Regions from separate parts of the Homo sapiens genome. Here region 2 is linked to region 1. Evidence: promoter capture Hi-C in human tissues and cell types (Jung and others, 2019). All regions are on one chromosome and are shown on one strand. Each heading gives the region's core, a stretch centred on a gene start or on the middle of the fragment in contact. The rest is flanking DNA. Distances are from core to core; before and after follow the strand shown. Region 1 holds the start of FUT4 (fucosyltransferase 4). Region 2 overlaps ENDOD1 (endonuclease domain containing 1).

The links. Contacts are between HindIII fragments. The study calls those that stand out against the background at their distance.
Region 2: a contact is called between a fragment that was not itself captured here and the fragment with the promoter of FUT4 in region 1, in 1 of the 25 tissues and cell types used here (spleen).

The regions. Positions count from the first base shown.
Region 1 is chr11:94,541,186-94,545,831 of GRCh38, forward strand. FUT4 (fucosyltransferase 4) reads left to right here and starts at 2,736. Exons shown (of 1, transcript NM_002033.4): 1 at 2,736-4,646. The coding sequence starts at 2,949. The coding sequence ends at 4,541. It overlaps PIWIL4-AS1 (PIWIL4 antisense RNA 1), which reads right to left. Exons shown (of 5, transcript NR_135093.1): 5 at 4,147-4,646. RefSeq lists a silencer at 2,924-3,493 and an enhancer at 4,313-4,646. The HindIII fragment of the contact is 7,218 bases long and covers 475-4,646 here.
Region 2 is chr11:95,105,320-95,109,965 of GRCh38, forward strand. All of the region lies in intron 1 of ENDOD1 (endonuclease domain containing 1), which reads left to right. Among named protein-coding and RNA genes, the nearest start is that of ENDOD1, 18 kb to the left of the region's middle. RefSeq lists an enhancer at 2,797-3,996. The HindIII fragment of the contact is 5,781 bases long and covers 1-4,141 here.

The sequences.
Region 1 (4,646 bases), core at 1,486-3,985:
ACCCTATTTTTACCCAACTCACTCTTTACTAATGACAGAATGATTTTTTCTTAGAAACTTTTTTCTAAAGTATAATGTCCACCCATAAAAGTACATATGTAAGCATACAGTTTGATGAACTTCCATAACCAAACACACCCATTAACCAGAGCCTACATTAACAGTCAGCATTCCGCAGCCCCCCCGTGTCCCCATCCATATACTCACCCTCCTTATACGTAATAAAAATAAGAATTCATTTTAAAAATGAATATCGCTTCCTTCCTTTGTTAAAGCCTTCCAAGGACTTTCTCGACAGCCTGCAGGATAAACACCATCTCCTTCGCCAAACTATACCCTAGTAATTCCTCGCCTACTGCCCCAGTCTTCCCTCCCTGGCCTCTGCAGTGCTGCTCCCTCTGTGGCAACTAACACCTCAGCCCTCTTCCTCTGCATTGTAATGATTCCTAATTATTCCAGGAGCCACCTCCTCAAAGCCTTCCATGATCCCTTCCCTCCCCACTATCTGTTTCTCTCGTAGATTTTTGAAGGTAGAAACCGTGTTTTGCATTTGTTTCCCAATTTGTTAAATGAACAAGTGAGTAAATTTATTAATTTCCCATAACTCCTTTCCTCCCTTTCCTTCTCCTCTACCCTACCAATGGCTCTTTTAAAATAAGAACAATCCAGTCCCCTGTGAATGTTTGTGCATGTATGAGATGCACAATGATCACGTATGACCTTCAACCAGCAATTTGCGAAGTCACGACTGGTTTCCATTCATCCAGACACACCTTACTACCTAGTATCCCCTCCTCCCACATCAAATAAGGGTATAGTAGGGGCAGTTTGTGGTCTCAACCCTACCGAGGTAAGAGGGCACAAAGAAAATTGATATGCATGAGACCTCGGGCATTCTTCAGGTAAAAAGATGGCTTAATTGGAACATTCGGAGGCTTAAGAGAAAATCGGGAGTGGTGGAAGGAAGCAATCAAGCAGGGTAATATTTCCCAAATGCCTACCGGCCACGTGCCAGACACAATGTTAGGCTCTATCTGTGATGTCTTATTTAACTGAAGAGGGAGAAGAATGTGAATAAATGGCTGGATTCTTGAATTGCATAAAAAGAGAAGCCAATACACTTTTTCCTTTATTTCGTTTAAACAAGTAATTTGTGCATTTATAGCTTTTTCTTTTAATTAAAAGTAAGAGTGGAAAAAAGTCACTGAAATGTCTAATTTCAAATAAAATATTTGATTTCTAATTTCTGTTTTTCAAACAAACAAAAAACCCCAGAAGCATTATGAAAGGTTTTACTGTGCAGGAGGAAATGTTACTAGGTTGATGGGCCTAGCCAGAACACCTAACATCCTCCATCTAGTCTCCAAACTGAGGCTGTGGCCCTGCAGAGAGCGCCACCCGGAAGCCACTTTTATAGAAGCTTTTACACACAATGCTTGATTTTTTTTTTTTTTTTTCCGAGACGGAGTCTCGCTTTGTCGCCCAGGCTGGAGTGCAGTGGCGCGATCTGGGCTCACTGCAAGCTCCGCCTCCTGGGTTGACGCCATTCTCCTGCCTCAGCTTCCCGAGTAGCTGGGACTACAGGCGCCCGCCACCAAGCCTGGCTAATTTTTTTTTATTTTTAGTGGAGACAGAGTTTCACCGTGTTAGCCAGGATGGTCTCGATCTCCTGACCTCGGGATCCGCCCGCCTCGGCCTCCCAAAGTGCTGGGAGTATAGGCGTGAGCCACCGCGCCTGGCCTATACTTGATTTTTAATGAAAACATTCTTAAATTCATATGGCTAACGCAAATTTATTTTCTGTAGGCATAACATCAAAAACACCTGGCAGGATTGCCCCATTCCCAGCACTGTCTATTTCTCCCCTAGTATCAGTGGGACTCCACTGATGCACAGCTGTGATCTACTAAAACTTCTCTCAAAACTTTCTCCTCTCCTTAGGTCAGCAGCCCCGCCCCTGATCTATTTGGAAATCCCCTGAATAAAAGTTGAATATCATAAACCAAAGCGAACACCCAGAAATTCAAATTCAACCCGTAGGTAAAAAATTTCTCAAGTGACTGTAGACGTAGATGTCTCCAGTGTCGCCTAATAAGGTAGAAGAGGCCAGTGCGATACTGTCTTTACACCCTTAACTTGGGTGCTAGAATATTTATCTTCGTCATCATTTTATCATCCAAACTATTTTGCATAACTTTCATGGGTGCAGAAAATGTTTTTTAAGTGCTTGGTAAAATTAATAGTGATATTCATTCATTCATCTCACTGAACAGGCAATAAATTCCTTGACGACAAGGGCCTTGGGGGGGTCACATCTTCATCTTTGGTTTATGAGTCCTGTGCGTCTTGGTACAAGCAATACTACTATGAGCCGGCAAGTCAGACTTATTTGGTAGGGGACCAAAGGAAAGAACATGTTTTGATTGCTAAGAAAACATTTTGTTCTCTATCCTTTACTGGGCTGGCAGGCAAAGGAAATGTTCTTATGAGCACTCACATTGAAAACTTAAGTTCTTCACCAAATGCAGAGACTCTGAAGGCCACGCCGCTGCGGGCTGCCTCCACAATTCGACCGTCTCGGCGGGCCACGAGATCCTGGCCACGGATGCGGTGGCCGCGCCTCTGCTCGCACGTTCCCCCGGCCTCTGGACTCCCTCCCTCCCTCAATCCCTCCCTCCGGCGGGCGTCGCTGGCGGGTGGCTAGGCCCAACGGCAGGAAGCCGACGCTATCCTCCGTTCCGCGGCGCCGGGTCCGCCTTCCGTCTGTTCTAGGGCCTGCTCCTGCGCGGCAGCTGCTTTAGAAGGTCTCGAGCCTCCTGTACCTTCCCAGGGATGAACCGGGCCTTCCCTCTGGAAGGCGAGGGTTCGGGCCACAGTGAGCGAGGGCCAGGGCGGTGGGCGCGCGCAGAGGGAAACCGGATCAGTTGAGAGAGAATCAAGAGTAGCGGATGAGGCGCTTGTGGGGCGCGGCCCGGAAGCCCTCGGGCGCGGGCTGGGAGAAGGAGTGGGCGGAGGCGCCGCAGGAGGCTCCCGGGGCCTGGTCGGGCCGGCTGGGCCCCGGGCGCAGTGGAAGAAAGGGACGGGCGGTGCCCGGTTGGGCGTCCTGGCCAGCTCACCTTGCCCTGGCGGCTCGCCCCGCCCGGCACTTGGGAGGAGCAGGGCAGGGCCCGCGGCCTTTGCATTCTGGGACCGCCCCCTTCCATTCCCGGGCCAGCGGCGAGCGGCAGCGACGGCTGGAGCCGCAGCTACAGCATGAGAGCCGGTGCCGCTCCTCCACGCCTGCGGACGCGTGGCGAGCGGAGGCAGCGCTGCCTGTTCGCGCCATGGGGGCACCGTGGGGCTCGCCGACGGCGGCGGCGGGCGGGCGGCGCGGGTGGCGCCGAGGCCGGGGGCTGCCATGGACCGTCTGTGTGCTGGCGGCCGCCGGCTTGACGTGTACGGCGCTGATCACCTACGCTTGCTGGGGGCAGCTGCCGCCGCTGCCCTGGGCGTCGCCAACCCCGTCGCGACCGGTGGGCGTGCTGCTGTGGTGGGAGCCCTTCGGGGGGCGCGATAGCGCCCCGAGGCCGCCCCCTGACTGCCGGCTGCGCTTCAACATCAGCGGCTGCCGCCTGCTCACCGACCGCGCGTCCTACGGAGAGGCTCAGGCCGTGCTTTTCCACCACCGCGACCTCGTGAAGGGGCCCCCCGACTGGCCCCCGCCCTGGGGCATCCAGGCGCACACTGCCGAGGAGGTGGATCTGCGCGTGTTGGACTACGAGGAGGCAGCGGCGGCGGCAGAAGCCCTGGCGACCTCCAGCCCCAGGCCCCCGGGCCAGCGCTGGGTTTGGATGAACTTCGAGTCGCCCTCGCACTCCCCGGGGCTGCGAAGCCTGGCAAGTAACCTCTTCAACTGGACGCTCTCCTACCGGGCGGACTCGGACGTCTTTGTGCCTTATGGCTACCTCTACCCCAGAAGCCACCCCGGCGACCCGCCCTCAGGCCTGGCCCCGCCACTGTCCAGGAAACAGGGGCTGGTGGCATGGGTGGTGAGCCACTGGGACGAGCGCCAGGCCCGGGTCCGCTACTACCACCAACTGAGCCAACATGTGACCGTGGACGTGTTCGGCCGGGGCGGGCCGGGGCAGCCGGTGCCCGAAATTGGGCTCCTGCACACAGTGGCCCGCTACAAGTTCTACCTGGCTTTCGAGAACTCGCAGCACCTGGATTATATCACCGAGAAGCTCTGGCGCAACGCGTTGCTCGCTGGGGCGGTGCCGGTGGTGCTGGGCCCAGACCGTGCCAACTACGAGCGCTTTGTGCCCCGCGGCGCCTTCATCCACGTGGACGACTTCCCAAGTGCCTCCTCCCTGGCCTCGTACCTGCTTTTCCTCGACCGCAACCCCGCGGTCTATCGCCGCTACTTCCACTGGCGCCGGAGCTACGCTGTCCACATCACCTCCTTCTGGGACGAGCCTTGGTGCCGGGTGTGCCAGGCTGTACAGAGGGCTGGGGACCGGCCCAAGAGCATACGGAACTTGGCCAGCTGGTTCGAGCGGTGAAGCCGCGCTCCCCTGGAAGCGACCCAGGGGAGGCCAAGTTGTCAGCTTTTTGATCCTCTACTGTGCATCTCCTTGACTGCCGCATCATGGGAGTAAGTTCTTCAA
Region 2 (4,646 bases), core at 1-2,500, 560 kb after region 1:
ACATCTACTTGTATACTTGAAATCATCTGTAGATTACTTATAATACCTGGTACAATGTAAATGCTGTGTATATAGTTGTAATACTGTCTTGTTTTATTTTTTTGAATTATTCTATTTTTTTTAAGTTCCGGGGTGCATGTGCAGGATGTGTGTTTGTTACATAGGTAAATGTGTGCCATGTGGTTTGCGGTGCCTAACAGCCCATCACCTAGGTATTAAGTCTCACATGCATTAGCTTGTTTCCTTAATGTTCTCCCCTCAGCCCACCCTTCCCCAGTGAGTATTTTTCCCCTCCCTGTGTCCATGTGTTCTCATTGTTCAGCTCCTACTTATAAGTGAGAACATGCGGTGTTTGGTTTTCTGTTCCTGCGTTAGTTTGCTGAAGATAATGGCTCCTAGCTTCATCCATGTCCCTGCAAAGGACAAGATCTCATTCCTTTTTAATTTGCATTATTTTTATTGTTGTATTATTAAATTTTTTCCCTGAATATTTTTGATCCACAGTTGTGGAATCCATGGATGCAGAAGGCACAAGAATTAAGAGAGCCAACCAGTTATGGGGATGCACCTAGGGACTAGCAACAGCAGGAAGCTGTGACCATCCTAGGCCTGTGGGGTAAGGGTAGGAGCCTGGTGAGAGCCGTGTCTGTACAAAAATTCAGCCAGAGCCAGAGCCACAGCAGCCAGGCAGGGAAGCAAGGGAATGAATGTATGATCTGGTCCCTCTCTCTTCCCGCCTTCCCATTGATGGCTCCAGTCAGAAGCCAGAGGGCAACGGGGCTCAGCTGATGTGATTCCTACAAGTCAGCCTCCCATAAAAGTCAGCCTCCCATCTAAATCAATCAGCCTCCCCAGATGCAGAGTAGGGCAGAGAAGAGGGGAGATGGATCTGGAAGACAAAGGATGGACACCCAGCACAGGAGCTGTGAGGTCAGAGCTGAGGCTTGGCACCCAGATAGGATTTAGGTAGCATAGAGGAATGGTGAAAGCATCCCCAGCTGGTAGTGACAGGGGCAGTTGTAGAGAGAAGTGGGGCGCATTTACATTACAGCCATGTAACTGACATGGATGAGTGGGGGGATTGACCTATTCTGGTTGAATATAAAGGAAGGTTTGAGAGAAGAAGTTGGAGAAATTTGGCGGGGAGGCCTATGAATATGCCAGTTTGTCATTTAATCAGGAAGTAATAGGATGTTATTGAAGGTGTTAGAGTAGTGAAATGTTCAAAGGAATATGCATAGCAAAAGTAGACTTCTCACTCCACCTAGGACTGAGGAAGGAAGTCCTTGCTTACACATGTTACATGATCAGAATATTAGCTGATCTAATAGGTGGAGGATCCAAAGGACCCACAGTATTTTGTTCTCTACCTTGGCATTATGACAGCTCTTGCGATTTGTGGATAATTCCTCTCTCAATATCACGGGAATAAATTAAGCTTAGCCAGGGCACTCCCCAAAATGATTTAAACATTTGTTTTTCAGCGTGAGGTTCATAGACACCCCCCCCTTTCCCCCGTCAGCATCACCTGGGATGGTGGTGAAAATGCATATGGAGGTCCCACCCCAGACATACTGAATAGAATGTATCTCTGTGGTGAAGAACAGGAGTCTGCATTTTTGACAGCCACTGCAGGAAATTAGTGATGTCTCCTTAATTCAGTTGAATTTGAGAACTATTGATTTAAGGAGACATCACTAATTTCCTGCAGTGGCTGTCAAGGTAGGGGCTTAATTCCTTCAGAGAGTGATCAATGAGAACCTGATGGAGATCTAGCCCCATGGTTCCTATTACAATCGTATTAGAATCACCTGGGGAAATTTAAAAACACCCTGATGCTGGGGTTGGGTGGAGGGGAACTTTTTTTTTACTGGTTTAAGAAGTCTGGGTTGTAGTCCCAGCTACTCGGGAGGCTGAGGCAGGAGAATGGCGTGAACCTAGGAGGCGGAGCTTGCAGTGAGCAGAGATCGGGACACTACCCTCCAGCCTGGGCGAGAGAGCGAGACTCAGTCTCAAAAAGAAAAAAAAAAAAAAAGGTCTGGGTGAGGCCTGAGGATATTTTTAAAGCTCCCAGGTGATTCTGATGTGCAGCCAGGCCTAAGAACCTTTGATCTTGTCTGAACTCAGAAGGTGGAAAAAATTAGAAATGGAGCCTTCTCAATGTAAGGGACTCCTCTGAATTCTGTACCACACAGTCAATGCTAAGAATAATTGCTCTGGAAAGGATAGCAGAGTGGAAAACAGGCTTCTGTGAGTAACGTGGAAGGAAACCAAAGAAGACCAGGGCTGATGTAACCTGAGAAGGTACTGCAGTCTGGAAAGGTCTTAAAGGAGTCCGCACACTTTTTTTTGTTTGTTTGAGACGGAGTCTTGCTCTGTCACCCAGGCTGGAGTGCAGTGGCGCGATCTCGGCTCACTGCAACTTCTGCCTCCCGGGTTCAAGCGATTCTCCTGCCTCAGCCACCCGAGTAGCTGGGATTACAGGCGCGCGCCACTCCGCCCGGCTAATTTTTTTGTATTTTTCATAGAGACGGGGTTTAGTAGAGACCGTGTTAGCCAGGATGATCTCGATCTCCTGACCTCGTGATCCGCCCGCCTTGGCTTCACAAAGTTCTGGGATTACAGGCGTGAGCCACCGCGCCCGGCCGGAGTCCGCACATTTTCTTAGGCTCCCTGGAGGAGCTTGAAACTCCTCGCTGTGTGTGATGAGCAGCCAGAGGTGTCCCCGGGAGAGTCTGTTTGCCCCCAGGCCACCCATTGGCCTTCACACAGGGCTTTCTTGCCTGCATTTATTGCCAGTTTGGAGTTGGTGAATTTAAAGAATTCCTCCTTTTATTTTTATTTTTTCAACTAATCAAGAAAAAGGGAAGTCTGAAATGCAAGTAGAACACCCACCCTTTCGAACGTTTTATCTTCCGTTCCACCGTCTTCTGACTCGGGAGAGAGCTCTTTAGCCATTTGTCTTTGTTTTCCCACAGTTTGCCAACACCTACGGGTGTGCACAGCACAGGCCAGAGCTGGAAATGCGTCCTTCTTCCCACAGCCAGGAAGGTGTGTGAGTGGTGCTGGGAGCCCAGAGGAAGGGTGATTCACTGGAGGAAGGCGGAGAGGACAAGGACATGCTCTGCTAAAAGGCCTTTCAGGAAATGAAAAGCTCTGCATTTCTCTTTTCTAAACACACACACACACACACACACACACACACACAGACACCCAAAAAAAGAAAAAAGAAAAATGAGCATTCCCCTAATTCTTCTAAAGCGGTTTCTATTCCCAAGAGGATAAAGAGTATTTTAGATGCCAAGCACGGAAGATTTTTTTTTCCTGAAATGGGTGGGTTGGCACTTTCTTTCCTGAGAGCTGAAAAGGCCTCATGCTTTATTCCTCCTCAAATGTCCTTAATCTGCTGTGGCCCCACCATCCTCCCCCTCCATTGTTGAAAGGCAGCAGCTCCTTCCCTCGCTGGGTATTTCCCATGGTAAGTAGGTTCTCCTAGGACTCACCCGAGCCTCAGATTGAGTTCATCCTACTGTGTGTGACTGTGCAGAGGACCTTTAGGCCCCTGTAGGCAGCTCTGATAAGATTATCTGATGTTCTCATTATCAGCTGCACCCACGATCTTTTCTAAGGAGGGGCTCTTTGACCCACCTGATGATGGCAGCAGGGGTGTTGGCATTCCTTTTACATCCCAGTGTGTGTGGGTGTGTGCCTATATTGTAGTTCACACAGCAGAAATAAAATGGGAACACCCACTGTTCAGCTCATTCTATTATTTTAACTCTTGTTGAAAAATAAAACAAACCCCTAAGGAAATAGCGTCTTTGTCCCCACGGAGTTGGATAGCTCCCTAGGTCATCTCCTGACCACAGGATCTTGTCGGAATCATCCCCTACATGTGCTTATCTAGCCTCAGCTTAAAATTCTCCAGGGGAAGGAAACTCCACCCTCCATGAGTCAGAGTCATTGAGAGTTTAATAACCACTTTGATGGTCTGTTGTCAGGACCACCTTTTCCTTGCAGCAGATCAAGGAGCAGAATTAGAGGAGAGCCAGTTCTCTCTGGAGACTCATCTGCAAATTGGAGGAAATCTTATGTGCATCAGAAGATTGTTGTGGAGCTCAAATGAGATCATTCTTTCAACAAATGCCAGTCACTCCCTGGTGTGCAGGACCATCATGCTAGGTCTGGGAACACAGAGATAATTGGGCACTGGCCCTGGCCCTTCAATTCAGTGGTTCAGACTGATGGATAAACATACCGTCTCAGTGCAGTGGCAGACTCCTCTGCTTTGTCTTTGGAGGTCAGCCTGCCAAACTCGGCTGCCCACTTGTGTCCCACACTCTGAGGCGCTGTCTCCACTCACACCAGTTGCCCATCAGCAGCAGGGCCACACCTGGCCTGCTACCTGCTGCCATGCTGCTCCTTCGAGAATCCACCCTTCTCCTCCCCATCACCACTGAGCCTGTCTTGCTCTTTACCTGCACCTGCACTGCTCAGTCTCTTCACATCAGCGGTGCCATTAGCACCTGCAACCTTGGGCCCATGCCCACCTGGATTTGGAGGTCAGGTACTTCAATCTGTTTGCAGGGACAAGGCTGCCAGGGTTCATATCCACCACACCTAGGCCAGTTCTTTTTCTGTTCTTG